Linked DNA regions of Homo sapiens: region 2 is linked to region 1. The links are contacts of gene promoters, found by promoter capture Hi-C in human tissues and cell types (Jung and others, 2019). All regions are on one chromosome and are shown on one strand. The core of a region is centred on a gene start or on the middle of the fragment in contact, and the rest is flanking DNA. Distances in the headings are between cores, read along the strand shown. Region 1 holds the start of PRDM14 (PR/SET domain 14). Region 2 has its middle 100 kb from the start of PRDM14.

Region 1 (6,448 bases), core at 1,863-4,362:
AGGACTCTCCCAAAAGGGCAAAGGCCAAGATTTCCCCGGACTAGTCTCCCGCCCCATTTTCAGCAGCAGACCCACCAGAAACAGATTTACCTCCCACATCACAGAATTGTCTCCGTAGGTCTTCACTTCACTGGCATTGACCACTTTACCTTGAAAGGGCCCAAACCTGACTCCTTTGGCGATAAAACTACTGCAGAACACACCAAAATGTGGGACTTCACCAAACACCGTCTGCATGAGGCATAGACCTAGGGGAAAGCCGAGGCAGGAAAAGAGAATGAGGAGAGTTGACTCTGCATTAGTTCAGGGAAAGAAATCCATGCAAGGAGTCCTGCCTACCTTCTGGAAGTTGAAGGGAGTCTTTATCCAGAGTTTGAGGAAGAGAATCAGATCCTAGCAAAAGGCAGGTTAAAACAATTTTTCATTAAAAATGCATTATAAAGTGCTTTTATGAGGTGTTTCCCTCCTTAATTCCCTAAAGGTAACCATCATCCCAGTTTGATATTTATTTGTTGTTTCTATTTTTCCCTGCTCATTTTACATGGTCTGTTCATACACGATTTCACTGTAAACAATTCCATATACAATTTCTCATTTGAGACTCAGAACAGCCTCATGGAAGTTTATGTAATTAACCCCATTAGGCAAATTCAAGGAATTTGAGGATCAGAGGTAATGCCTGACTAAGGTCAGCGTAGCTAGCTGAGCTGGGACTGTTAGGTGTGAACTGCTGAAGGCTGTCATTGCATGTTAGCATAGAATCTGAACCTACCTGGGAGTTCGCTGCAGGAACCATTTCTCTCTTGGTCCTCAGCTCTCACTAAAACCAACCTTAGTCATGCAGTTAAGCAAGCAGGGCCTCAGAAGTGAGCCTAGAACAGCCCTGGCTCTCATGGAGGTACTTCCCCCTTCCCGCACTCTGCAGCCTCAGCTCCACCTGGAAGCGCCTCTTCCCGGACACTCCCGTTCCCGCCTGCATTCCCGTCCAATTCGACTCCCAAATGGTGTGAACTCCCTTTACCAGAGCTGTCTGGGGGGACCAGGAGGCCTGAAATCGCATGGTGCAGGCTGGCTGGGTGCTCCAGGCTGGGAGTGACCCCGTACAGAACGAAGTGCAGGTCCTCCTCCGTGAACTGGAACCGAGCAGGGGACTTCCCTTCTTGGTTGGAGGGTTTGGGACCATCCTCTGACTGCTTGCTGGGTGAGCAAGGTAATAACTGGGAGGTCCTCAGCCCCTCAGGTAACAGAGAAGCATCCGCAGGGGGCGGTGGAATTAAAGTGTCAGGTCCACAACACGGGCCACTCTCGTTGTCGCCACCAATGATTTGGTGGCCCAGATCTTCACTGCTGGCACCCGCGTACTCGTGGCTGCTGCTCAGGAAGGGCGGCACTTCCCTGGGGACGTGGGGAATTGGGTACCACGGTGGCAGCTTGCTGTACCAGGGCAGATCGTAGAGAGGCTCCCTCTGTAGGCCCAGACCCGGGCTCAGCAAGGGAGGCGCCATCCGGAAGGGGAAGGGGGGCATGGCGGGGGCAGCAGACGCTGCGGCCTCCAGCTGCCGGAAAGGTTGGAAGTCTTCCTCCACGGTGGCCAGGCTGTTTCTGTAGTGTCCATAGGACGGGAAAGGCGTGTAGTACGCGGCCAGGTTCTGCGGGCTGCTCTCCGGCGGGTAGCACACCTTGTCCTGAGGCACGGCCTCACTTGGCCGGGGTAGAGCCATCCCGGGACCGCACGCTCGGCGGCTCTGCAGAAAAGCGGGCGCCGCTGAGGACACCGCGCGGGAGCTTCCCGGGGTCCGACCCGCGCCTCCCCACCAGCCTCCTCCACCCCAGCCAGCCCCAGATCCAAGGGAACAGGATAAACGCCCCCAGTCCGATCCCGCCAGCCCGCTCCCACAATTAAGACAAAACGAAAAAACAGCAATAGAAGCAAACACAAAAAAGCCCCAAACGGAAATCTGCCGGGATCCTGCCCTACTCTAAATTCCGGGTTAGTGTTGCCTTCCCCTTCCCTCTCCAAGCACCCCTTCCCTAAGCCCGGCCGCCTTCCCACACCCGCTCTCCGCTTTCGGCCCCCAACCCGGTTCCTGCAAAACCCATTGAAGTTCCCTTTCCTTCCTTCTTCTCAGTCCTACAAAACTCGTTGGTAGGGTCTGTGGGAGCCGCGGGGCCCTGCCAACCTCGGGGCTGGGCCGGGAGCCGAGCGCAGGCGGTCGGAGGGCAATGGAGCAAGCGACAGCTCCAGGCGCTCCTGGGCCCTCGGCTGGGAGGGAAGAGCCGAGGACCCTGGGTCGCACCGCGCAGATGGAGACGCGCTCCCAGAGCCCCCGGGCAGGTCCAGGGACCCCGCGACCTGCTCTGGCCCAGCGGTGTGACCCCGCGGGTCCTGGCGGTCCTGACTGCCCGCAGGGGAGGGGCGCGCCACTTTTGGCTGCCCTAGGATGCGCCGCCTGAACCTCTTTTCCCTCGCGGGCAGCGTCCGCCACATTCCCCGGGTTCCTCGGAAACTCCAATCATTCTACCAGGACTATTGGGGCCTGGGGTAGCCCCTCGGGAGCCGCGTGGACGAGCCCTGGCCAGGTGGGAGCGAAGAGCCTCGGCGACTGCCAGTCCTCCCGCCCCCGCACCGCCGGGAAAGGATGGCGTTTTAATAGACAGGCAGCAAGTTCACCGAGGCTGAAGAATGAAGCCCCTTCAGGGCCGGCGGGTCTTGAGATCAATGAGCCCAATAAGAAAACCAAGCAGGGTCATGACTCAGAAATTAAAGAACACGGGGTCAGGAGAAGAGGTCAGCCACGACACAGGCAGCGGCCCGTCTCCTCCCGATCCTCCAAAGGCGCCCTTCTCCTAGCCTCCTCCGACCTCAGGGATCTGCAACTTGGGATTCAAAGCCCCCGAGAGGGCAGAACGACCATCCAAAACGAACTGCGCCAGCGAGTGCTGCCGCCCTCCCCAACGGCCCTGGAAGACCACCGCCCCGGGCCCCAGGCGCGTCCTGTCCCGTGCCTACCTCCGACACCACCTCCAAGAGCGCCACCGCGGAGCGGGCGCCTCCTGGACGCTGCGGGGCCACTCGGGCTCGGTAGGCCACTCGGGCTCGGTAGACTTCGGGCGGGCCCTGAGGGCTGAGCCAGGCTTAAGAGGGCGGGCGGGGCCGCGGGGCATCGACAGGTCGAGGGTAGGGAATTGACCCGGCCCACGCAGATCCCCGCGTCGTCTTCTCCCCGCCCACCGCAGCCATTGGCCGACTCTCGACTCGCCCTCTGTCCCCTGGGGTCGCTCACTTAACTCATCAGTTTTCCAAACCCTCCCTGGGACCCTAGTGGCGAGCACTCGCCGCTGGCCTTCTAGGGCAGGCAGTATTGCCGCTCCAGGCGTGCGGAGTCGGGGAGAAAAAAACCGAACACGTGTGCTACCCAGGGCCCCCAGATAAGCCCCTCCGCGCGCACACACACCCTGAACCGGAGTCCAGAAGGCCGGACTCGCGTCCCGGGGTCGAGCCCCTTACTCTCCGCTCCCAGTTCGGAAGATCCCAGCCTGCCCGAAGGCGGCGTCTGACCCGCTGGTGGACCTGGTGGGTGTCTGTTCCTGATACCTGGGGACGAGGCGGGAGCGCCTTGAGCGCTGGGAAGCTTCGCCTCGCGAGTCCCCGGCAGTGACACGTGGGAGCGTTGGGCCCGGCACCCCCGACGCTTCCGAGGTTTCGGGTGGTCGTTTTGCTCTCTCGGGGGCTTTTATTCCTTAAGTGGCTTTAAACGACCGAGGATGGGCCTCCCGCGCCGCCGCAGCTGTCACTTCCTTCGGGAAAGGCTAGCGACCTTGGACGCGCAGGCTCTGAAAACCAAGGTCCAGACCCATACCGAGCGCCCAAAGACCGCATTTGAATTCTCCTCGCCGGCCATTGAGGGAGAGAAAGGAACGCTTAGTTCCATTCACATTCACAGAAAGAAGCGCCGAGGGTGGGGGAAACGCAGTCTTGCCGGGTGAGCCGGGACAGGTTCCTCGCCTGCCCCCCGGCCGCTGCTTCCTCTTAGCTGAATGGGGAGCGACCCGCCCCGGGCGCGGCCTTCGGGGCTGAAGACTGAGGTGCAGCCTCACCCCCGGCCTGGCAGCGGCTTGGAAGAGAGAGGGAAAGGAGGAACATCTACCCGGCTAAGAGACGCCGCCAGAGTCCCTAAAGCTGGCGGGGGACGGAGGCCGGGGTCCCGGATCTTCAGAGCGCCCGCAGCCGGGCTTCTGGGCTCCTCGGTGCGGGGAACCTGACCCTGTAGCCTTCGCCAGGGCGCGGCGGGGCTGCAAGAAGGGAGGAAGGAGTGGGACTAGAGCCTTCGAGGGCGCGGGCGGCGTGCACTCAGCCTTGTCTCCCCGCGCGCCCTGCCGCCTGCTTGCCCCCTTTGCTGCACCGGGTGGCCCTGGTCCCCGCGCCCGCCCGCCCCCGACGCCTTCGCGTGGTTCCGCGCTGCCCGCGGCCAGCCCCGTTTCGCTTCGCAAGGAGCGTGTTGTTTTCTCAATCGAAATGGGATCAAGATCCCAGGGTTTCCTCGTCTCCTTGTTTTGAGGTGATAGGATCTTAGCCAATAGATCGAAAACGTGAAAAGTACCCGTCGCCTCTTGTCCCAAGTGCCTCTGTGGAAGGATCATTTACTTGGAAAAGCAGAATAAATTCTGTTGCCGTTTTCCTTCCGGAGGCGTGCTCACCCCAGAGCTCCTAGACCCACTGGCATTCGCTATACTTCCTCCTGGGCTTTACAGGTAGGATTTCAAGAATGATATGGGGGCACCTGGGTGATCTGTGGGTTGCAGGTCCTCAAGAGGCCGTTTTTTCGTGCACGGAAGTGTCGTAGCTTTATTTTAGCGGAAGCAATATCAAACCTTATCTTAGAGGTTTGTTTTGCAAAGAATCCAGAGTTTACTATATTTGACACTATTTTAAAATAACACTTGCTTGTTTTAAGAAGTTGGGAGAAATCGATAAAAGAAAAGTTGAAATCCATGCTTCCCATTTCTACTCTAGGAGATAATCCTGATCAACAGTTTGGTTTGCTCCCTACCCCCATTCCTTAAAAACAAACAAACAAACAAACAAACCAAAACCCACTATACTTTTAGATTGTGTAGGATTACGTAGGATTTTGTAAAAATAAAAATGGGATTATACTTCACTCGTTTCTGCAACGGCCTAGCTCCTACTAGTAATCATTCCCTATCAGTATAGTAGAATTAACCTTATTTTAGTATTATCATTATTATTTTGAGACAGGGTCTCACTTTGTCACCCAGGCTGGAGTACAGTGGCATGATCTTGGCTCATTGCAGCCTCTGCCTCCTGGGCTCAAGCTGTCCTCCCGTCTCACCACCCGGCCCCTTCCCCTCAACTAGCTGGGACTACAGTCATGCGCCACCAAGCCCGGCTAATTTTTGTATATTTTTGTGGAGACAGGTTTCACCATGTTGCCCAGGCTGATCTCAAACTACTGAACTCAAGGGATCCACCCACCTTGGCCTCCCAAATTGCTGGGATGGCAGACCTGAGCCACCACACCGGCAAATTTATTCTTTATAATGGTTGCGTGGTACAGAATTTCCATTTTATAGGTGTGCTCATAGTTTATCAGCCTCCTCTTGAAAGGTATTTAAGTTGTTGCCAGTTTTTCAATACTTCTGGCAGTGTACAGAAACACTGATACAGATACATAGTTGTGCTACTGTGCCTTGTAGAAGAAATATCCAGGTGTGAAGTTGCTGGATCAACAGGTATAAACACTGATCATTTAAACAAGTACTTCAAGACTGGGCGCAGTGGCTCACACCTGTAACCCCAGCACTTTGGGAGGTTTAAGTGGGTGGATCACTAGAGGTCAGGAGTTCAAGACCAGCCTGGCCAACATGGTGAAACCCCATCTCTACTAAAAATACGAACATTAGCCAAGCATGGTGGCACAAGCCTGTAATCCCAGTTACTCGGAGGGCTGAGGCAGGAGACTAGCTTGAATCCAGGAGGCAGAGGTTGCAGTGAGTCAAGATCACGCCACTGCACTCCAGCCTGGGTGACAGAGTGAGATTCTGCCTCAAAAAATACAAAATAAACAAGTACTTCAAACCATACCAATTTATACTTCCTCCAGCAGTGAGGGCAAGTGCCTATTTCTCCATGCTTCATCTAATACCGAATATTGCCATTCCTTTTTTTTTTTTTTGAGACAGGGTCTCACTCTGTCGCCCAGGCTACAGTGCACCTCAACTGCCCCAGCTCAAGCGATCCTCTCATCTCAGCCTGTCTAATTTTGTGTTTTTTGTAGAGACAGGGATTTCACCATGTTGCCCAGGCTGATGTCAAACTCCTAAGTTCAAGTGATCCACCTGCCTCAGCCTCCCAAAGTGCTGGGATTACAGACATGTGCCACCACGCCCGGCCTTAAATTTTTTTTTCTTTCATAGAGACAGGCCC
Region 2 (6,448 bases), core at 1,692-4,191, 100 kb before region 1:
TGCCGCTTCCTCCTTGCCCTTTCTCTTGAATCACTGCCATGAAAACACGCAGATGGTCCCATGTGTCAAGCCACTGAGGACTCCAGCCAATGGCCATGTGAGCAAGTCCTGTTTGGAAGTAGGTCCTCTATCCATGTTTAAGCTTTCAGATGACTGCAGCCCTGGCCGATAGCTTGACTGAAACCTCTTGTGAGACCTTGAGCTAGAACCACCCAGATGAATCATTTCTGGATTCACAACTCTCAGAAACTGAGAGAAGTAATAAATGTTTGTTGTTGCATGATGCTGAATTTAGGGAAATTTGCTATGCAGCAATAACTAACTAATCTAAGAGTGTTAAGCAGGCTACTTTTTGTGTAATAAAGGAGATAAATAATACAGGCACATCTTGTTTTATCGAGCTTCACAGATACTGTGTTTTTTACAAATTGAAAGTTTCTGGCAACCCTGCATTGAGCAAGTCTATTGGCACCATTTTTCATTGCCCTTTTGTTTTGTTTTTCAGAGACAGGTTCTTATTCTATTGCCCATGCTGGAGTACAAATCATAGCTCACTGCAGCCTCAAACTCCTGGGCTCAAGTGATCCTGCTGCCTCAGTAGCTGGGACTACAGGTATGAGCCACTGTTCCTGGCTAATATACATATATACATTAAACAATACATATACATATATGTATATGTGTATTGTAGGGACAGGGTCTTACTATGTTGCCCAGACTAGTCTTGGACTCCTGGCCTCAAGCAATCCTTCTGCCTCAGCCTCCCAAAGCACTGTGATAACAGGCATAAGCCACCATGCCCTGGTGCCATTTTTCCAAAAGCAGATGCTCACTTCAAATATCTGTGTCACATTTTGGTAATTCTTGCAACATTTCAAACTTTTCATTGTTATTATATCTGTTGTAGTAAACTGTGATCAGTGATCTTTGATGTTACTATTGTAATTGTTTGGGGGCACCATAAACCACCCCCGTGTAAGACTGTAAACTTAATTGAGAAATGCATTTGTTCTGACTGCTCCATCAACTAACTTTCCCCCATCTCTCTCCCCTTCCTCGGGACCTCTGTATTCCCTGGACTAATATTAACATTGGACTAATATTAAAATTAGGCCAATGAAAGACCCTACAATGGCCTCTAAGTGTTCAAGTGAAAGGAAGAGTTGCACATCTCTCACTTTAAACCAAAAACTAGAAATGATTAAGCTTAATGAGGAAGGCAAGTCCAAAACAGAGACAGGCCAAAACCTAGGCCTCTTGCGCCAAACAGTTATCCAAGTTGTGAATGCAAATGAAAAGTTCTTGAAGGAAGTTAAAAGTGCTCCTCCAGTGAACACATAAGTGATAAGAAAGTGAAATGCCTTATTGCTGATATGGAGAAAGTGAGTGGTCTGCATAGATCAAACCTGCCACAGCATTCCCTTAAGCCAAAGCCTAATTCAGAGCAAGGCCCTAACTCTCTTTAATTCCATGAAAGCTGAAAGAGGTGAGGAAGCTGCAGAAGAAAAGTTTGAAGCAAGCACAAGTTGTCTTAACAAAAGAAGCCATCTCTATAACATAAAAGTGGAAGGTGAAGCAGCAAGCATTGATGGAGAAGCTGCAGCAAGTTATTCAGAAGATCTAGCTCAGATCACTGATGAAGGTCAACACACTAAACAAGAGATTTTCAAGGTAGGTGAAACAGCCTTCTACTGGAAGAAGATGCTTTCTAGGACTTTCATAGCTAAAGGGGAGAAGTCAATGCCTTGCTTCAAAGCTTCAAAGGACAGTCTGGCTCTCTTGTTAGGGGCTAATGCCACTGGTGACTTTAAGGTGAAGCCAAAGCTCATTTACCATTTTTAAATCCTAGGGCCTTTAAGAATTATGCTAAATCTACTAAGCTTGTGCTCTAGAAATGAACAGCAAAGCCTATATGACAGCACATCTGTTAACAGTATGGTTTACTGAATATTTTAAGCCCATTGTTGAGACCTACTGCTCAGAAAAAAAAGATTCCTTTCAAAATATTACTGTTCATTGACAATGGGACCTGGTCACCCAAGAGTTCTGATGGAGATGTACAAGGAGATGAATGCTGTTTTCATGCTGCTACCACAGCACCCATTCTGCAGCCCACAGATCAAGGAGTAATTTCAACTTTCAAGTCATGTTTTTTAAGAAATACATTTTAAGAAGGTCAGGCACTGGCCGGACATGGTGGCTCATGCCTGTAATCCCAGCACTTTGGGAGGCCAAGGTGGGTGGATCATCTGCAGTTAGGAGTTTGAGACCAGCCTGACCAACATGGTGAAATCCTATCTCTACTAAAAATACAAAAATTAGCTGGGCATGGTGGTGCATGCCTGTAATCTTAGATACTCAAGAGGCTGAGGCACAGGAATCACTTGAACCAGGAGGTAGAGATTGCAGTGAGCCGAGATTGTGCCACTGCACTCCAGCCTGGGTGGCAGAGTGAGAATTCATCTCAAAAAAAAAAAAAAAAGAAAGAAAGAAAAAGAAAAAGAAATACATCTTAAGGCCATAGCTGCCACAGATAGGTATTCCTATGATGGATCTGGGCAAAGTACACTAAAAACCTCCTAGGAAGGATTCACCATTCTAGATGCCATTAAGAACATTCATGATTCATGGGAAGAGGTCAAAATATGAATATTAACAGAAGTTTGGAAGAAGTTGATTCCAACCCCCATGGATGATTTTGAGGGGTTAAGAGTTCAATGGAGGAAGTCATCACAGGTGTGGTGGAAATAGCAAGAGAATGAGAATTACAAATGAACCCTGAAGACATGACTGAACTGCTGCAATCTCACGATGAAACTTGAACAAGTGAGGGGTTGCTTCTTAAGGATGAGCAAAGAAAGGGGTTTCATGAGATGAAATCAGCTCCTGGTGAAGATGCTATGAACATTGTTGAAACAACATAAAGGATTTAAAATATTACATAAACTTAGTTTGATAAGGCAGGGGCAGGGCTTGAGAGGATCAACTCCAATTTTGAAAGAAATTCTACTGTGGGTAAAATGCTATCAAATAGCATTGCATGTTACAGAGAAATCTTTCATGAAAGGAAGAATCCATCAATGGGCAAACTTCATTGTTGTCTTATTTTAAGACACTGCCATGGCCACCCCAACCTTTAGCAACCACCACCCTGATCAGTCAGCAGCCATCCACATCAAGGCAAGGCAAGACTCTTCACCAGCACGAAGACTATGACTTGCTGGGCCAGGTGCGGTGGCTCACGCCTGTAGTCTCAGCACTTTGGGAGGCCAAGGCAGGTGGATCCCCTGAGGTTGGGAGTTCAAGACCAGCCTAACCAACATGGAGAAACCCGTCTCTACTAAAAATACAAAAAATTAGCTAGGCTTGGTGGCACATGCCTGTAATCCCAGCTACTCAGGAGGCTGAGGCAGGAGAATTGCTTGAACCCAGGAGGTGGAGGGTGCAGTGAGCCGAGATCATGCCATTGCACTCCAGCCTGGGCAACAAGAGCAAAACTCTGTCTCACGAAAAAAAAAAAGAAGAAGAAAAAAAAGACTATGACTTGCTGAAGGCTCAGATGACCATTAGCATTTTTTACCAATAAAGTATTTAGTATTATTATTAATTATTATTATTAGTTTTTAGAGACAAGGTCTCACTCTGTTGCCTAGGCTGGAGTATAGTGGCACAATCATAGCTCACAGTAACCTCAATTCCTGAGCTCAAGTGATCCTCTTGCCTCAGCCTCCCAAGTAGCTAGTACTATAGGCGTATGCCACCACACTCAACTAATTTCTTTTTTTTTTTTTCTGAGATGGAGTCTTGCTCTGTCACCCAGGCTGGAGTGCAGTGGCGCGATCTCGGCTCACTGCAACCTCTGCCTTCCAGGTTCACGCCATTCTCCTGCCTCAGCCTCTGAAGTAGCTGGGACTACAGGCGCCCGCCACCATGCCCAGCTAATTTTTTGTATTTTTAGTAGAGACGGGGTTTCACCGTGTTAGCCAGGATGGTCTCAATCTCCCGACCTCATGATCAGCCCGCCTTGGCCTCCCAAAGTGCTGAGATTACAGGCATGAGTCACCCTGCCCGGCCCAACTAATTTCTTTAATTTCTAATTTTTTAGAGGTGAAGTCCTGTGATGTTGCCTAGGTTGGTCTTGAGCTCCTGGCCTCCAGCAATTGGACTCCCAAAGTGCAGGGATTACAGAGCCACTGCACCTGGCCTACAATAAAGTTTTGTTTTTGTTTTTGTTTTTATTTTTGTTTTTTTAATAGACAGAGTCTCCCTCTGCTGTCACCAGGCTGGAGTGCAGTGGCACGATCTCGGCTCACCGCAACCTCCGCCTCCCAGGCTCAACCTCAGCCTCCCAAGTATCTGGGCCTACAGGCACGCACCACCATGCCCAGCTAATTTTTGGTTTTTTAGTAGAGATGGGGTTTCACTGTGTTGGCCAGGCTGGTCTCGAACTCCTGACCTTGTGATCCACCTGCCTCAGCCTCCCAAAGTGTTGGGATTACAGGCATGAGCCACCACTCCTGGCCAAAAATTTTGTTTTTAATTAGCGAGGCGTGGTGGCAAGCACCTGTAGTCCTAGCTACTTGGGAGGCTGAGGTGGGAGGATCACTTGAGCCAGGAGGTCAAGACCTCAGTCAGTCATGATCCCGCCACTGCACTCCAGCTTCAGTGACAAAGTGAGACCCTGTCTCAAAAAAATAAATAAATAAAGTAAGAAAAGAATTAAGGACCTCATTAAAGAAATGGTAAATGGCATAGATATTACAAGAATGTTGTAAATTGTTACATGTTTTCCATTCAGTATATTTCTTTTTGGATGAATACTACGAAAAAAAAATGAGAAGGGAAACAAGACAGAAATTTTAGATGTTGGCCAATAACTTTTTAGCTTACTTTATAAAAATGGGTAATATACTGTGGATCCCTCCCAAATTGCTTGCCAATTGACCTAGTTTTTTTTTTTGTTTTTTTTTTTTTTGAGATGGAGTTTTGCTCTTGTCACCCAGGCTGAAGTGTAATAGTGAGATCTCGGCTCACTGCAACCTCTGCCTCCCGGGTTCAAGCGATTCTGCTGCCTCAGCCTCCTGAGTAGCTGGGATTACAGGTGCCACCACCACAACTGGCTAATTTTTGTATTTTTAGTAGAGACGGGGTTTCACCATGTTGGCCAGGCTGGGCTCGAACTCCTGACCTCATGTGATTCACCCACCTTGGCCTCCCAACATGCTGGGATTACAGGCATGAGCCACCGCGCCTGGCCTTACCTAATTTTTTGTGGGTACAAAAGTAAGCACCCTCTGTCTAACTCTTGGCTATGGGAATGATTCCCTCCAGGTTTGTGGAAAGACCTAACCTTGACCCTGCTCATGGCTGATAAGTCCCACTGGGAACCTGGCTGAGCCGTGGCAATCAAAATCCTTTCCTCCTTAAATGTGCATAGGACTCTGAGGGAGGTTAACCTCTGCAGGAGGCTGGACCTGCTGTATCTAAATGCAGAAGCTGATGGTAGCCATTTTATACTCTGTTGTGGGGACAGAAGGAGTCAATGAAAGAGGCAGGAGAGAGAGGAAAATGAATCAAGCAGAGACCTAAGAACAAAACAGACAGAAGAGAAGGACAACGCTTGAGTGTACTCAGGTTCCTGACTCCAGTTTAGAGTCTTCAGCTTTCACAAAGCCTACCTGTGTCCCTACAAAAAATTCTAGCTTGAGCCAGTTTCTGCACTTGTAGCCAAAAGACCCTTAGCCAGTACTCAAGTGGAGCCAAAAGCCACAGAAGTGGCTCTGTCTTCCACTTCTTTCCTTCCCATGATTCATACATTTTCTTAATTCAAGAACTTTATTATATAAATATTTACTGAGTACCTTACAAGACGCCCATGGGTAATGTGAGTAAAAAGAAAAAGATATCATGTCATTGATGTTTGGGAACAAACTGAGAATTTCAACGAAGTATTCTAACCCACTTGAAAGGAAAACATACATTTCAAATATTTAGAAAACTGTAACTCAGAATATATTATTCACTATCTTCTATGTTATATGCTACACATATTATAAAAAGATTACATAGATAATCTTCTTCAATTACCTTTTTTATTTATATTTTTATTTTTATTTATTTTTTTCAGACAGAGTCTCGTTCTGTCGCCCAGGCTGGAGCGCAGTGGTGCAATCTCAGCTCACTGCAAGCTCCGCCTCCCGGGCTCAGGCCATTCTCCTGCCTCAGCCTCCAGAGTAGCTGGGACTACAGGCACCCGCCACCACGCCCACCTAATTTTTTGAATTTTTAATAGAGACGGGATTTCACAACGTTAGCCAGGATGGTCTTGATCTCCTGACCTCATGATCCACCCGCTTCGGCCTCCCATGGGGTCTCGCTATGTTGACCAGCCTGGTCTCAAAATCTGGCCTCAAGCAATCCTCTCATCTCAGCCTCTCAAAATGCTGGG

The links. The method cuts DNA at HindIII sites, captures the fragments that hold promoters and counts their contacts. A contact is called where the count stands out against the background at its distance.
Region 2: a fragment that was not itself captured here is called in contact with the fragment with the promoter of PRDM14 in region 1 in 2 of the 25 tissues and cell types used here (bladder and dorsolateral prefrontal cortex).

The regions. Positions count from the first base shown.
Region 1 is chr8:70,068,140-70,074,587 of GRCh38, forward strand. PRDM14 (PR/SET domain 14) reads right to left here and starts at 3,113. Exons shown (of 8, transcript NM_024504.4): 1 at 3,011-3,113; 2 at 1,022-1,745; 3 at 340-393; 4 at 91-248. The coding sequence starts at 1,721. RefSeq lists enhancers at 2,607-3,336, 3,337-4,066, 5,912-6,448. The HindIII fragment of the contact is 14,761 bases long and covers 1-5,388 here.
Region 2 is chr8:69,967,022-69,973,469 of GRCh38, forward strand. No RefSeq gene overlaps it. Among named protein-coding and RNA genes, the nearest start is that of PRDM14, 100 kb to the right of the region's middle. The HindIII fragment of the contact is 6,629 bases long and covers 1-6,256 here.